3 separate regions of the Homo sapiens genome follow, and regions 1 and 3 are each linked to region 2. The links are contacts of gene promoters, found by promoter capture Hi-C in blood cells and fetal thymus (Javierre and others, 2016). All regions are on one chromosome and are shown on one strand. Each heading gives the region's core, a stretch centred on a gene start or on the middle of the fragment in contact. The rest is flanking DNA. Distances are from core to core; before and after follow the strand shown. Region 1 overlaps NAPG (NSF attachment protein gamma). Region 2 holds the start of TXNDC2 (thioredoxin domain containing 2). Region 3 has its middle 7.5 kb from the start of NAPG.

Evidence for each region. The method cuts DNA at HindIII sites, captures the fragments that hold promoters and counts their contacts. A CHiCAGO score of 5 or more calls a contact.
Region 1: a fragment that was not itself captured here is called in contact with the fragment with the promoter of TXNDC2 in region 2 in 2 of 17 cell types (naive CD4 T cells and naive CD8 T cells); the score reaches 5.8 in naive CD4 T cells.
Region 3: a fragment that was not itself captured here is called in contact with the fragment with the promoter of TXNDC2 in region 2 in 1 of 17 cell types (naive CD4 T cells); the score reaches 5.1 in naive CD4 T cells.

The regions. Positions count from the first base shown.
Region 1 is chr18:10,535,206-10,538,827 of GRCh38, reverse strand. All of the region lies in intron 5 of NAPG (NSF attachment protein gamma), which reads right to left. Among named protein-coding and RNA genes, the nearest start is that of NAPG, 11 kb to the right of the region's middle. The HindIII fragment of the contact is 2,853 bases long and covers 133-2,985 here.
Region 2 is chr18:9,883,833-9,887,768 of GRCh38, reverse strand. TXNDC2 (thioredoxin domain containing 2) reads right to left here and starts at 1,796. Exons shown (of 2, transcript NM_032243.6): 1 at 1,689-1,796; 2 at 1-1,180. The coding sequence starts at 1,088. The HindIII fragment of the contact is 12,861 bases long and covers 1-3,936 here.
Region 3 is chr18:10,516,748-10,520,339 of GRCh38, reverse strand. No RefSeq gene overlaps it. Among named protein-coding and RNA genes, the nearest start is that of NAPG, 7.5 kb to the left of the region's middle. The HindIII fragment of the contact is 695 bases long and covers 1,393-2,087 here.

The DNA of each region.
Region 1 (3,622 bases), core at 310-2,809, 650 kb before region 2:
AAAAGTGGGCAAAGGATATGAAATACAATTATTTTATCCCTAATTCATGAAAGTAAATGACTCAAATACATTGTATAGCAATAAAGATATTTAAAATGAAATGCTTCACATGATTACTCTCCCAATCAAGCTTCATTAAACCCAATCAAAAAGGTACCAGGTAATTTCTACACAGAGTTCATCATCACTTCACAGACCTTTGGGAAATCTATGAAAATAGAAAAAACCAAAAACCTTGCTCTTTACTGTTTTCTAAGCACTTCTTATTCTTTAAACATTTACCAAGTCCCTACTACATACAAGACCTATGCCAAGGATCACAAACTGGCAGCCCAATGACTCTATCTCACTTCCAAGTGTGTTTTGCTTGATCCATGCAGTATTTTTAAATTAGATACTTTCATGAAAATTGTTTTATGGCTTTCTTCAAAAAAATATCAAAAGCTACGGCATCAGCAGGCTTGCATCCCTGTATGGCAACAGGCTGGGGCTGGGCAGCACTGTCCCGCCACATGAGCATGCACCTCCTGGCGCTTCTCCCCGCTCTTCACTTCCAAATGCCCTCCACGTCCCAGCTGCTCATTCATTTTAGTTATTCCTCTACACCCTGAGTTCATCTGAGTTTGCAACCCTCTTCCATGACTAATAAATTCTGTATCTTACTATTAATCTACACATCTCAGGATCATGCAGTCCTAATGTCTAATATCTCCAAATCAAACATTTTAAAAATAAACTTAAAAAAAAACACCGTTTAAAAGCTAGTTATAAAGTTTACATAAGCAACTTATTTAGTGTTGACTTGCTGTATCTTAAGGTAGGCTCCACACTGACATCTCATGGGTGGTTTACAAATCTGCCTATTCAGTCCCTTGCTAAGTTGACAAATTCATTAGGATACCCTTAACAAAACTGGTCTCATTTTCGCCAACCCCAAAACATAACTTTATTATTTAGCTATGGAAACTAACAATAACACAGACTGAAAGACACTGTATGAAATAAGACTGCTATCATTCACTCAAGCAGAATGAAATGCTAATGCATTTCCAAACCTCAGTGAAAAAATAAAAACAATACTTTTTTTGTTATAAAACCAAAAGTCAATGAAAGAATCCGAGTCTACAATATCTGCTGAAAAATATCTGAATGAACAGGGGAGGTAAACCTAACAAAATCTCTCTCAGACACATTAGTCCTGAGGGTCATTTTGGCTTTTAAAGAATACAACTGAACCTTGAACAGCAGAGATTTAAACTGTGCTGGTCCAATTATACGCAGACTGTCTTGCTCCTCTGCCACCTGAGACAGCAAAACCAACCCCTCTTCTTCCTCCTCCTCCTCTTCCTCCTCCTCAGCCCAAACGTGAAGACTATGATGAGGATGAAGAGCCCTATGATGCTCTACTTCCACTTAAAGAACACTAAATATATTTTCTCTTCCTTACGATTTTCTTAATATTTTCTTTTCTCTAGCTTTATTCTAAGAATACAGTATAAAACATATTCCATACAACATACAACATATGTACTAACTGACTGTTTATATTATTTATAAGACTTCCAGTCAGTAGTAGGGTAGTGGCTCACGCCTATAATCCCAGCACTTTGGGAGGTTGAGGCAGAAGTATCACTTGAGCCCAGGAGTTTGAGCCCAGCCTGGGAAAAACAGCGAGAACCAGTCTCTACCAAAAAAATTAAAAAATTAGCAGGGCATGGTGACATGCACCTATAGTCCCAGCTACTCAGGAGGCTGAGGTGGGAGGATCGCCTGAGCCCAGGAGGTTGAGGCTGCAGTAAGCCATGATTGTGCCACTGCAATCCAGCCTGGGCAACAGAGCAAGATCCTGTCTCAAAAAAAAAAAACAAAAACAGGCTATTAGTAAAGTTTTTGGGGAGTAAAAAGTTATATGTAGAGTTTCAACTGCACAAGGGGTTGGCATCCCAACCCTTGGGTAGTTCAAGGGTCAACTGTATTTCCTCCCCAAATATACCTACCCACTAATTACATATATAATGTGAATCTACAACATAAAAGCATTTGGGAGGATAAAAAAACCACAGGAACTATTCGTCATGAGTTTTACCCAGTAGATAGAGCAAAAAATACATTAGAAGGCAGTAAAAATGGCATCCGAGTCCTATTTGTTGTTTAAAAATTAGCAACTACATCTTCCTGTTTTTGCGTAAAATCAAGTGAGGCTGTGAGTAAGAGGTCCAACCACAATATTGATACTTCTCCATAAAAAATGATGAGCTGCCTACTTGAAAGTTATACCCTCCACCATAAATATGCCTATTTTCAATGGCTGTGTGCCAGTGGAGCAAACAGGATATGAAATCACAGCAGTCATCAAGTGACAGAACCAAAGGTTGATCCAACAAGTTTCTGTGGCTTCCCTTGTGCATATGTCTACAAAATGGCACTCCCCAAGCCTTTCTGGTGAATCAGTGTGAAGGTTTGTATGACAAATTGGTAGAAATTTTAGCCCACAGAATTGTGGACCACGTAGCTCAGGGGTCCTGTGCTCCCAACAGTGTCCAAAGGCATTTAATTTAAATATAAGACAATGCCAGAAAGCATTTTCCTTCATCTGTTTCCCTATCCACTAAGTTAATTTTCTTTCATTCAAAGTAGTGCCTTTCCAACCCTCAAATTAAATAGATACTTGAGCAATGGAAATGATGCCTGAATAATAACTTTTGATGAAGATTCAAGTCTTAGTACAGCTGTTGTAATATAAACTGAGGCTGTGAGAATTAGAGTGTTTGAGCATTTCTTAAACAGGCATGAAGTACACTAAGAATGTAACAGCCACCTGGGAGCTTCCTAATTCTCAGAGGAAAATGAGACATAAGAAGACCAGAGCAGATCCCCAGCTTCTTTGGCCGTAAGAGAAACTCTATGGTTTCAAAGGAACTGTGGTTAATAACCTAACTTGCGGCACCAAATACCAATTCAGTTGCATGTTTGGCCAGAAAAGCTTTATTTCAATGGATATATAATAGTTTATAATAAGGAAGCATCATAATTTATTTAAACACTTTCCTATTATTATTATTACTTTGAGACAGAGTCTCGCTCTGTTGCCCAGGCTGGAGTGCAATGGCACGATCTCGGCTCACTGCAAACTCTGCCTCCTGGGTTCAAGCAATTCTCCTGCCTCAGCCTCCCAAGTAGCTGGGATTACAGGCGCCCGCCACCATGCCCAGCTAATTTTTGTATTTTTAGAAGAGACAGGGTTTCACCATGTTGGCCAGGCTGGTCTCGAACTCCTGATCTCAGGTAATCCACCCACGTTGGCCTCCCAAAGTGCTGGGATTACAGGCATGAGCCACTACATCCAACCTCACTTTCCTATTATTCAAAATTTAGATAATTGGCATTTCTTCAAGAAACAACCTGATGCATAAATCTTTGATCTCTCTCTCTCGATGATAGACTCACAGAATTGAAATTCCTGGGTCAAAGACTATAAAATCTTTTAAACTAAGTATGTTAACAGCTATTACTAACATTCTTTAACTTTTCGGTATTTTTTATTGTCTACAATGAGCATGTGTTCACTAAAAAAATGAGTAAGTTCACATTATAAAAGTCATAGAAATTAAAAACAAAAGCT
Region 2 (3,936 bases), core at 547-3,046:
TTGGATGGGGTGGCTTCTTCTAGGGACTTGGGGCTGTCATCCTCCTTGGGCTGGATGGTTTCTTCTGGGGACTTGGGGATGTCAATCTCCTTGGGTGGGATGGCTTCCTCTAGGGACTTGGGAATGTCACCCTCCTTGGGCTGGATGGCTTGTTTTGGAGACTTGGGAATGTCACCCTCCTTGGGCTGGATGGCTTCTTCTGGGGACTTGGGGATGTCACCCTTCTTGGGCTGGATGGTTTCTTCTGGGGACTTGGGGATGTCACCCTCCTTAGGCTGGATGGCTTCCTCTAGGGACTTGGGGATGTCACCCTCCTTGGGCTGGATGGCTTCTTCTGGGGACTTGGGGATGTCACCCTCCTTGGGCTGGATGGCTTCCTCTAGGGACTTGGGGAGGTCACCCTCCTTGGGCTGGATGGCTTCTTCTGGGGACTTGGAGATGTCACCCTCCTTGGGCTGGCTGGGCTTCACTGAGGCCTTGGGAATATTGCCCAGCTTGGGCTGGATGGGCTTTGCTGAGGACTTGGGGATGTCACCCTCCTTGGGCTGGATGGTTTCTTCTGGGGACTTGGGGATATCACTCTCCTTGGGCTGGCTGGGCTTCACTGAGGTCTTGGCAATATTGCCCAGCTTGGGCTGGATGGGTTTTGCTGAGGACTTGGGGATGTCACCCTCTTTGGGCTGGATGGCTTCTTCTGAGGACTTGGGGAGGTCCTCCTTCTTGGATTGGATGGTTTCTTCTGGGGCCTTGGGGATGTCACCCTCCTTGGGCTGGCTGGGCTTCACTGAGGCCTTGGGAATATTGCCCAGCTTGGGCTGGATGGGTTTTGCTGAGGACTTGGGGATGTTACTCTCTTTGGGCTGGATGGCTTTTTCTGAGGACTTGGGGAGGTCCTCCTTCTTGGATTGGATGGTTTCTTCTGGGGCCTTGGGGATGTCACCCTCCTTGGGCTGGATGGTTTCTTCTGAGGACTTGGGGCTGTCATCCTGCTTGGGATGGCTGGTGTTTGCTGAGGACTTGGGTAGGTCATCGCCCTCCTGTGAGGCATCAGACTCCTCTGTGCGCATGTGGAACGTGTGGCTGACCATGGGGAGAAAGGCCTTCTCTTTGGCCTGGGCTATTTCCAAGAACTCTAGGGCCAGGAGAGGCACGTTGCTGGACAGGACTAGTAATGAGCTTTCTGTACCAAAAAACATAAAATAAAATAAAATAAAATAAATCAAATAGAAATGCAAAAGAAGAACCAAAGAAATTCTCTTCATATTCCAAGGAAGACTGATGTCACTCTTCGAGATCACGAATGAAGTCTGATGAATGATGTATTAATCTGAAAAACTCATTCAGCAGAAGGACAAACAGCGTGTGGTTACACGTATCTTCTGTATACATGTTCTTAAGCTACAACTTTCCCTTCTTGGTTCAACACCCTGCCCGCTCCCTAACTGCATAGGTCTTTAAGGCAACCCTCTTTCCTCCCCTACTTACCATTAGCATCACCTTCACTTGTTTCTTCCTGAGTGCCCAGCCTCATTTCTGGTTTTCCAGAGGCTCCAGCTTTAACACTTTCCATTCCTAGTTCCTTGTCTACATCCATTCCTGATCCTTCATAGATGCCTCATAGTAAAGGCCGTACCCTCCAACTTTTTCCAAGCTATCCATCCTAACATCAAAATATGAGTAAAACTTACATTTGGGTGGCACGTTACAGTTGGTTTTCCCTCTCTGTATTCACAACAGTGATATTTGAGAGCTTCAAGGTGGCTCCCCTGTGCTGAGGCTGGGACTACGCATTCACTGGCATCATTTCCTAGAACACAACAAACCACTGAGGTCAGAACCATTATGATGAGTAGTTTACACATGAGAAGCTATGTAGCTCACTTAAGGTCACAAAGCTAGGGTGGGGGCAGGCTCCAAAGCTCATGCTCTGCACTGTGAGGCTGTGCTGGACTGCTCGCCACAAGTCCCGTCCAGCCTGGGTTCTGTGAATCAACCATCTTATCATCTTTCTCCAGGATCCCCCAGCTCCAACATTCTCTTTACGACTCACCCATTGTGACCAGCTCCTAAGTATCTCCTCGAAACCATGTTAGCCTCCTCTGCAAAGTGTCCCACAATGTCAAATGTTCAGCTCCTGCTAGACAGCCTCTTTCCCCACCTCCCCCACCTCCCAGGCGCACCAGCCCAGCCTGTGCCCTCCCCCATGCAGACACATCCAAGTACACGGCTCTTCCAGCCTTTACATACAGGAGAACAACCTCTTTGTGAATAATCCTGGTTCCATAAGCCACATCTACCCCATCCTGTGGAATGGGAAGCCAAATACCTGTCCCCCAGGGAGACTTATTTTATTAGTTCAGGACCACTGGCTCATTTTCCACCCTCACTCTGCACAACACATCCAGTCCAAGGCAGGAAGAATCAGTGTGGAATTTTGCCTTCTCTACATGTACTTTGAACAAATCCTCATATGTTTCAGTTTCACCCCAACAATATAAGTGTTGAAAGTGGTCAGGCATGGTGGCTCACACCGTGATCTCAGTACTTTGGGAGGCCAAGGTGGGAGGATTTCTTGAGCCCAGGAGTTTGAGATCAGCCTAGGCAACATAGCAAGACCCCATCTCTACAAAAAATACAAAACCTAGCCAGGCACAGTGGCACACGCCTGTCCCAGCTACTTGGGAAGCTGAGGTGGGAGGCTTGCTTGAGCCAGTGAGTTCAAGACTGCAGTGAGCCGTGATCACTACATCGTACTCTAGCCTGGGCAACAGAGCAAGGCCCCGTCTCTAAAAACTAAAAATAAAAGTGTTGAAATCTAAATGATAAGACCTCCACATTGTCAATAGAAACCTCGAAACATCTAATGGCAATGGTTCAATTATCTGGATTTTTATACCAAAACACATTTTACTAAGGGGTAGAGAGACTATTGGCCTTAGCAAATCCATAGTTCCTTTTTTTTTTTTCTTTGAGACAGTCTTGCCCTGTCACCGAGGCTGGAGTGCAGTGGCACAATCTCGACTCACTGCAACCTCTATCTCCCAGGTTCAAGCAATTCTCTTGCCTCACCCTCTCGAGTAGCTGGGATTACAGGCATTCACCACCACACCCGGCTAATTTTTGTATTTTTTTTAGTCGAGACAGGGTTTCACCATGTTAGCAAGGCTGGTCTCTAACTCCTGACCTCAAACGATCCACCTGCCTCAGCCTCCCAAATTGCTGGGATTACAGGCGTGAGCCACCATGCCTGGCCCAGCAAATCCGTAGTTCTTGATGATATGAATCCTGTTCCAGGAAGAGCTCATGCTTCCACTCCGTTTCCTCGGTTACTGCCAAAGAAAGCTCTTCCCTCTCTCACTGGGAGACTTTGGGCCTTTCTTATGTGATATTTTAAAGGACGGGAGGTTGTCTTCACTCTCCAATGCCAACGGCTTCCACAGCTGACAGGACTGTTTTTCATGGTGCCCTATTTTAAAGCAGAGGATGAAAATAAACGTCAGGCACTTATCTGGGCAATGTCTTCTTTCTTAGTGTTAGGAGAAAGGAGGTGAAGCGGGGAGGATAGGCATCATTTGCAGAAACCATCATGAGCAGATTTTATTAGCACAAAGTGGGCAGCATCTTTGGCCCTTGCTCATTGGTAAGTTAATTTACTTCCTGGGACCCTATCTTGTACAGGGTCCCTGCTGTTTGGAAGGGAGTGGATGAGGACACAGAGGAACTCCATCGCTGAGAGGCAGAAGTGAAAACATCACTCCTGCCATCCCAGTAGATGTGGAGGCAAGAGGACAGATGCCTGTGTCCCGGCCTCCTTTCTCCAGGTTGATTGCCAGCACAGATACTAATCAGATGTGCTACTCTACTAAAAATGCGATTTTAGATCTCTACTAAAAATACGAAAGTTAGCCGGATGTGGTGACAAATGTCTGTAATCCC
Region 3 (3,592 bases), core at 491-2,990, 630 kb before region 2:
CCTGGCGTTCATTCCTTCTCCCGCGTAGCCTTATGGGTCTCTTCAGAAAACACATGGTGGCGCTGCCTGCACGTGCCTTTACAAGCTGCAAGCCGTCCAAACAAAAGTGGTTAGTTTCTGCCTCTTGGGATTACAGTCAGATTCTGGCAACATTTCGCATTCATAACTGAACTTTCCACATAAAAGCGATCTCTCTCACTGTTTTGTACACAAAGTGAGGCAGCATTGTCCGAGTACAGTAATGTTGGAAAGAGATGAAGCATTGTAAATGTTTAACAACAGATCTCTGTTAAATCCACTCTAACGAACACAACCGTTTTGATGAATATTATTTTTAAAGAGAGAGAAAAATACAGATCTTCCTTTGCAAGCTATCTTTGAATAAAAGATAAAACCAACACACTGAATTGGCTTAGTGGAAACCCGTCATGTATTTCATTAGACCACTTGCAGATAGCCTAGTGCCAACCTATAAATGTTCTCTCTTGAAAACCACATCCCATAGATATACAGCAATCATTTTCTTTCAAGGAGGATATATTCACGCAGTTACATTTTGTACAAATATAAAGTAGGCAAAATTGAAAGAATACAACATAAAACATGACTCATTAATGAAGTTTGTGAATTACTCATTCACAAACTGCATTAATGAATTTTTTTAAATAACATGTCTTCCAAATTAAGAATTCCTCAAGAAGTGCACGTTTGGAAGCTGCCAGGAATAAAGAGCTGTGGACTGGGTTTATGCTATTCATTCTTTAGGCACTCATTCAACAAGTATGTGTGGAATGGTTTCTCCATGCAGGCACTGTTCTAGGCTCTGGGAGACAGCCCTGAATGCAGCAGGGATTCACAGAGCTGACATTCTAGCACAGGGCATATGGGTGGGGTTGTGGAGTCCAGTAGGAAACTGGCTAAGGCGGTGTAGACACAGTGCTAGAGGGGGTCAACACTCAGGAAAACAAAGCAGGATGTGGGAATGGGAGGGCACCCGTGAGTGTGGGGTGAGTTTCTTCACCAGGTAGGTGACAATGAAATAAAGCTCTGAAGGAGTGGTGGCCTGAGACCTGGGATATCTGGACAAAGATAGTTGCCGATAAAGAAGGAATAGCAAATTTGTGAGGCAGAGTATGCGGGCGCCTGGCCCCACATTCCAGGGGAGAATGGGGAGGTGACGAGGTTGCAGGGGCCAAGGGTGACTTGGCTAGAAAAGCAACACATGACTCCCTTTGTGAAGATTGGATTAAAATTATGCAATGGTTGCATTAAGTTTGAAAATCTTCAGGGACACATTTCTTGCAACTTCCCTCTACTCGTGTAATTAGAAATGAATAAATGTTAATAAGGAAGCTGAAAAGGCTCTAATGGTCTAGAACGTTATATAAAGCTTACTGGAACATGACGTTCTCAAAGTGTACTAGGATTGCAAAAGCAGCCACAGGACCCTTATTTTCCAGATTCCTGTGGAGCTGAGGAGGAGGAATCACAGCCTAATGGAGGGACACATGGCAAAGGAGCATGGAGCTGTGTGCTAGCAGGTGCACAGCGGGGTCATGGCCACTGTTGTTCAGTGGGGCCACCAGATCACAGATGAACACTGCAGCCGTTTCACATGTGACTGCCCTCATCCTTCATTTCCTATCCCCCACTGCGTGGAGCCCTTGGGTCACAGTTACGGCTGGAGGAGGCTGTGGATTCAGAAACGCAGTTGTGGATAAGGAAAGGTTTAGCACTGCCCACAAATGAAAAGAGACCTTCCAGATTTAGAGAAAAGGAAAAAAGCAAACAAAACAAAATAAAAACCCTCTTTTCTCCAGCTCCCAACATAATCAGAGATGAAAGAAGACAGTTTTAGCCTGGTAAATAAGAAAATAAACAAGAGCTTGAAATGGATAAGTTTTTTCTTCTAAATTTGTTTTTGCAAAGGGTTTTTCTTCCCTGAAAAACAAAATACTAAAATAGCAAGTTGTGTTTTCATTTATAAATCCTTCTCAAGAGGAAATCTAATAATAACAAGGGGTTTCCATTGGATTCCAACTTATTTCATAATGTAAATATATTTCTATCCTCTGGGGAAAAAAGCTTCCCCAAGCCAGGTATTTATCGTTTAAATTTGTGATTTTATTCACTTCCATTTTTCCCTCTCTTTTACCTTGAACAGCCTCTCAAACTGAAGAGGAGTGTTCAGTTCTACAGCTTATTAGATAGGGCCTCTTCATTCAACGATGCAAAGTTTAGAAAGAACGTGGACGATGACTTGCTATGTTTTGTTCTACATCCAATCAGAAGAGTAGCTTGTGGCTCAAAAAGTCTTATCTTAGAAGATCAAATGTCCACATTTTAAGAGAGCGGGGCTGTATACTAGAAAGAAAAATGGATTAGAGTCAGTCATACTTTCAAACCTCAGCAGTATTTCTTATGTTATTTAAAGACATATATTATCTGGTTTCTTTGAGCTTCAGTTTCTTCTCCTATAAAATGGGAAGAATAATAATGTGGTGGATTAAAAATGGCAGCCAAATCTCTGACCCTCTTCCATTGAGAGGGGGACTCTGTCCCATCCTCTTGAATGCAGGTGGGTTTTGTGACTGCTTTGACCAAAAGAACAAGGATGTGATACTGTGCCAGTCTCAGGGCCCAATCTTCAAGGCACAGGCAGCTCCCACTTCCCATCTCTCAAAACATGAAATAGCTCTTGGAACCCTGAACAGTGCAACTCCCTTGAGGCTGCCATGATGTGAGGAAGCTCAAGCCACCCCGGTAGAGGTCTATGAGCAGAGAAGCAATGGCCAGCTGCCCCGCATCTCCCAGCTGCAGCCATTAGAGCCGTCCCAGCAAAGCTTCCAACCGTGAAGCTGAGTGGAGCTCCTCTGACTGTGCCCTGTCCAAATTTTCCATCCACATCATCAGGAGATACAATAATACTGTTTTAATCCATTGAGCTTTGAGATGGCTTGTTAAGCAGCAATAGATAAACATACTAAATGCTTATGTTGTGGAGCTACTGTCAGTTTTACAAATAATACCTCCAAGGCGCCTACACAGAATGGACACATAGGGAACATTCAGTAAATAGGAGCCATCATTTGTACTGTTGTTCTCATGATCTTCCCACAAGAGCGTTTATTAGAAATGTGATCAGAGAATCCTTTCTGAGCTCACAGAAGGCATTGAAATCCCTCACAGCTGACTTGCGTGGGAGTACACGGGCTTTGGGATGGCAAATCCTTCCTAGCCCAAGCCAGTCAGGTGCAGGAGAGCCACTAAAACCCTGCCAGTGCCTGCACTGCCGTTAAACATGTGTCCTCTCAGTAAACGAGACATGCTGTCCCTGCATTCCAGAAACATTGCAGCTCCACCTTGTTCTTGTATTTTTTCCTCCCCTATAAATCTCCCTGGTTACCTAAACTCAGTAGGCAACTAAGCACAATTGGGTTTACAGAAGGCAAGGTGACCTAAGAGATCTTTGAATGTAGCTGTTGATGTCCAGACTGCACGGAGAGCAGTCCAGCCAGGTTGAGAGCCTCTCAAGCACTTATGGTCTCCCTACTCCCAAGTGACCTTCTCTTTGGGGCACAGGTATTTAGGA